2 separate regions of the Homo sapiens genome follow, and region 2 is linked to region 1. Evidence: promoter capture Hi-C in 16 types of primary human blood cells and fetal thymus (Javierre and others, 2016). All regions are on one chromosome and are shown on one strand. Each heading gives the region's core, a stretch centred on a gene start or on the middle of the fragment in contact. The rest is flanking DNA. Distances are from core to core; before and after follow the strand shown.

What was found. Contacts are between HindIII fragments. The CHiCAGO score rates a contact against its expected background, and 5 or more counts as called.
Region 2: a fragment that was not itself captured here is called in contact with the fragment with the promoter of H3-4 in region 1 in 2 of 17 cell types (erythroblasts and total CD8 T cells); the score reaches 7.1 in erythroblasts.

What each region holds. Positions count from the first base shown.
Region 1 is chr1:228,424,101-228,426,613 of GRCh38, forward strand. H3-4 (H3.4 histone, cluster member) reads right to left here and starts at 1,260. Exons shown (of 1, transcript NM_003493.3): 1 at 745-1,260. The coding sequence starts at 1,225. The coding sequence ends at 815. The HindIII fragment of the contact is 2,523 bases long and covers 1-1,488 here.
Region 2 is chr1:228,122,337-228,124,849 of GRCh38, forward strand. No RefSeq gene overlaps it. Among named protein-coding and RNA genes, the nearest start is that of MRPL55, 14 kb to the left of the region's middle. The HindIII fragment of the contact is 365 bases long and covers 1,076-1,440 here.

The DNA.
Region 1 (2,513 bases), core at 10-2,509:
TCAAGCAGTTCTCCTGCCTCAGCCTCCCAAGTAGCTGGGATTACAGGTATGCGCCACCAAACCCGGCTAATTTTAGAGATGGGGTTTCACCATGTTGGCCAGGCTGGTCTGGAACTCCTGACCTCAGGTGATACACCCGCCTCGGCCTCCCAAAGTGCTGGGATTACAGGCGTAAGCTGCTATGCTGGTGAAGTAGCTGGACTTCTAACTTAAAATAGGCCAAGATAATACATACTACTTGCTGGCCTTAACAGGAGATGGGCTGTCAAGGCAGAAGACTAGCTGGACTGGTAACCTCACTGGAAACAAGCTGCGTGTACACACACACACACACACGCAGGACTTCTAACCTAATTTGAAAGAGGCTGAGCTGAGAACACACAAGACCAGCCAGCCTTCCAACCTAACTGTAGATAGGCTGAGTTGACACAACTAGCTGGGGTTGCTTACCTAACTGGAGATAGACCAATTAGGCTACCCTCAACACCCCGTCCCCAAAACAGACCAACCATGATTCTTATCTAAACGGATAGGCCAAGTTAGCCCCACACACTACTAGCTGGATTTGTGACTGGAGACAGGCTGAGAGGTAACGCGTGTGAGTAGCTGGCCTCCTAACTGGACAGGGTGAACACAGGATTCACCAGCCTCCCACCCTAATCAGAAGTAGGTAAGCCAGCACAGGCCAGCGGAAGGAACCCCCCGAAACCCAAGAGACTAGCTTGCTACAGCAACTCTTCGACCAGGTGGGTGGCTCTTAAAAGAGCCTTTGGGGTGAACGTTGCGCAACCTCTCAGGTGGCGAGATAGCCCTCCTAGGCCCGCTCCCCGCGGATACGGCGTGCCAGCTGGATGTCCTTAGGCATGATGGTGACCCGTTTGGCATGGATGACACACAGGTTGGTGTCCTCAAACAGCCCCACCAGGTAAGACTCGCACGCCTCCTGCAGCGCCATCACGGCCGAGCTCTGGAAGCGCAGGTCGGTCTTAAAGTCCTGAGCGATCTCGCGCATCAGCCGCTGGAAGGGCAACTTGCGGATTAGCAGCTCAGTGGACTTCTGGTAGCGGCGGATCTCGCGAAGCGCCACCGTGCCGGGCCGGTAGCGGTGCGGCTTCTTCACGCCGCCAGTGGCAGGTGCGCTCTTGCGAGCCACCTTGGTGGCCAGCTGCTTGCGCGGCGCCTTGCCACCCGTTGACTTGCGCGCAGTCTGCTTGGTTCGGGCCATGAATCCGAAACTGTTGGCCCCGCGGTGTCCTCTGCCCAGACCTCAGCGGATTGCTCGCTTTTATAGAGCTTGCCGCGTTCCCATTGGCTGGCCTCAGGTGGCGTGATGGCCCACTGCTCTCTGATTGGCCCACAGGGAACTCCACTCGGGCGCCTCTCCCTTATATTCATGCCTGTTGGTCGTGGCCACCAGAGCTGGCACCAGCATTGTGAAGGGTTGATGCGGGTAGGCCGCGGTGGTGGGGATCATCTCTCTCCAGCACAAGCTTCCTCATGTCTTCTCAGCGCTCCTCTTCTCCCTTCCCCATGACTTGGGTGGCAAGAGCCTTCCAGAAGCCAGCACATGGCATTCCACTTTTTTAAAAAATTAATTTATTTTTTTATTTTTTGAGATGGAGTTTCACTCTTGTTGCCCAGGCTGGAGTGCAATAGCGTGATCTCTGCTTACTGCAACCTCCACCTCCCAGGTTCAAGCGATTCTCCTGCCTCAGCCTCCCGAGTAACTGGAATTACAGGGATTACAGGTGTCCGCCACCATGCCTGGCTAATTTTTTGTGTTTTTAATAGAGATGGGGTTTCACCATATTGGCCAGGCTGGTCTCGAACTCCTGACCTCAGGTGATCCACCCGCCTCGGCCTCCCAAAGTGCTGGGATTACAGGCATGAGCCACCAGGCCCAGCTGGCATTTCACTTTTTTTTTTTTTTTTTTGAGACGGAGTCTCTCTCTGTCGCCCAGGCTGGAGTGCAGTGGCGCAATCCCAGCTCACTGCAAGCTCCGCCTCCCGGGTTCACGCCATTCTCCTGCCTCAGCCTACAGAGTAGCTGGGACTACAGGTGCCCGCCATCATGCCTGGCTAATTTTGTTTTGTATTTTTAGTAGAGACGGGGTTTCACCATGTTAGCCAGGATGGTCTCGATCTCCTGACCTCGTGATCCGCCCGCCTCGGCCTCCCAAAGTGTTGGGATTACAGGCGTGAGCCAGCGTGCCCGGCCGGCATTCCACTTTTACACAGTGACAAAGCTCTGGGATGCAGCCAGAGTTAAAGGAATCTCCCACTTTTTATGACCTGCAAAGAACTCCCTTACCTGTACGGCTTAGATGAGCCTTAGGATTCTGAAGAAGGTAAAGATGTGCCTTTCTGGCATATTGTCTATTTTGAGATAAAGGCACTTAAAAAAAAAAAAGAAGAAGCAGGTGTAGGAAGATCATTCTGAATTTCTTGTTGTTTCTTAAATACAAGAGATGAAATTCCCATATGAAAGATGTTCTCCTTATAGTAAAAGCAAG
Region 2 (2,513 bases), core at 8-2,507, 300 kb before region 1:
AACCTTCAGTCCCTTTCCCCTCCCCAGACATGGGGAGGTGGGGATGAGGCTGAAAATTCCAATCCTGCCTTGATCTTTTCAGTGACCAGCCCCATTCTGAAGCTACCTAGGGGCTGCCAGCCACCAGCCAACTCATTAGCATACAAAAAATCACTTACTTATAGAGATTTCAAGGACTTCAGGTGTTGTATGCCAGGAAAGACCTTTCACCCTCAAGATTTGCTGAAAATCATCTGACAAAACAGCGATGAATATATATGACACACAAATTTATTAATATGATGGGAGAAAATCTCAGAGTGACTACCCCACCACTGAGTGGGGTACAGATGGTTACTTGCCCTTAAGGGCAAGGGAGATGGGGAAGCATAAATGATTTTAGGAGCTCAGTAAATGATTTTTAGGGGAGTTCAATGGGCTTGAAGAACATACAATGGCCTCCACGAAGTCTGTTGGGCTCAGAGGGTAGACGGTGGTTTGTGACATCTGTCCAGGTGGACTGACTTCAGACTTTCTCCCTGCAATATGAATTCAGTTAATAAAAACTCAGGGAAGGGACCAGAGATAATTGTTTCCTTCTTTAGGCAGATAAGGGAGCTTCAGAGAACAACTTTATCCTGTGCTTTGGGAGAGACAGAGAATTGGGAGACATGAGGTGGGGAAGGTCAGAGAGACCTTGCAGCTTCTTCATTTCTGCATGTCAAAGCGCCATATTTTGGGGATATCTGTTTCTGAGCCCCCAAAATGGAGACAAAGCCTAAATATGTATATTTCACAATATCATACATGCATACCTTTGGTTGCAATCTTTTGCTATTCTCAAATAAAATGTTTTCTTTTAGGAAGCCAGTCTTTCTAAGGCTGACAACCCAAGGGGGTGGCATGGGTTGACTTAAGCCAGGCCTGCACAGTGGTGACCTAAGTCACTGCAGGGGCAAGTGGGGTGGGCCAGTGCAGAGCTGTGACATAAGCAGGTGACTTTCCCTATCAGAACTTTCAGTTAAGTCACTTCCATGGAAGAAGGGGCTCTTCTATGAAGAGCCTCTGTAACAGTACTGACTCCATGTTAGAGGAAAGCTTGCTTGCTTGAATACAATTATTGCTTTGCTTGAGTCTTTAGATTATTCACTAAAAACAGCCTCAGAAAAAGAGGACCTTCAACAGAGATTTTTTAAAATGTGCCAACCAACAGCTCTGGGAATGAATTGGCCGGCCTGACCATACCCACAGAAGGCCACAAAGCATTGACCAAGAAGGCAAGGATTAAATGCCCACCTGAGAATGCCCACGTTTCACAAGAATGTTTTCATTATTCTCCCTAATTTCCCTTAAAAACCCCTGATTTAGAAGCATGACTCAGAAAGGTGATCTTTGAACCCTAGTTCACTGCCTTCCCTGGGTTGCTGGCTTCTTGAATAAAGCTAACTTTCCTTTCACCAAAGCTTGTCTCTTGAGTTTTTGCCTTTCAAGCTACAAGTGGCCCAGACCTGAGTTCAGTTACACCTCTGCTAGCAACAGCCAGCACCACCAATGAACAAACACTGCCTGCAATAAGCCCCTGTGAACAGTAATTTATGTTTCAAAATATCTTACATGCACTTACTCTTTTTTGCCTTCAAAAGCTTCCTCTTGCCCCAACCCCTCAAATATGCTTATGGTCCACAAAAGCACATGCATCCCAGATTGCAATTCCTTGGCTATTAGCAAGTAAACTCTTTGTTTTGAGAACTGGTCTCTCTTGCTCATTTTGATACTGTAGGTAGTTAGGCAGACATGAGCAGGGCAGGAGAGGCCCTCCCCCAAACCAGGAATGTCAGACAATCACCAGGTGATAATCAGGCAGTTGCTAAACTGTTGCTTTAAAATAATTGATTGCAGCTGGTGCCAGGGAAAGCTGTGTCCTAATAGATAGATAACACCTGAAGCTGTTAATCAGCAGCTTCCAAATAAGATCTTAGGAGTTGGGTGAGTGGGGTCAAGCATGAGCACTAAGAGGCAAAATGGCAGAGTTTAACTGGTGTATGACCTTCCTCTAGGAACACTCAACTGGTAAGGGAAGAATGCCTCAGATGAGCATGCATACAACTCCAGTAAACACACTGTGCATGTGGCCCCTCCCAAGTGCTGGCAGGCCACTGAGCATGTAGACCGCCCACCCTAAGGGAAGAATCAGGGGAGAAGAGATGCAAGATCTCAGAAACATGCCAATGTATAAGACCCCAAGTCAAAGGTCAAATCGTGCACTTGAATCTCTCAAGTTGCCCTCATGGTCCTCTTTCGAGTGTACTTTACTTCCTTTCGTTCCTGCTCTAGAACTTTTTAATAATAAACTTTCATTCCTGCTCTAAAATTTGCCTTGGTGTGTCAAGAATTCAGGTTGGTGCAGACCCATACAGATTCACCACTGCTAACAATTTCAGGTTGACACAGAAAGGAGGAGCTTTTCCCAGATCGGCAACCTCTGGAACCATATGCAGTACCCACCTGAGTCCATTGCACTCTCAGCTTCCATG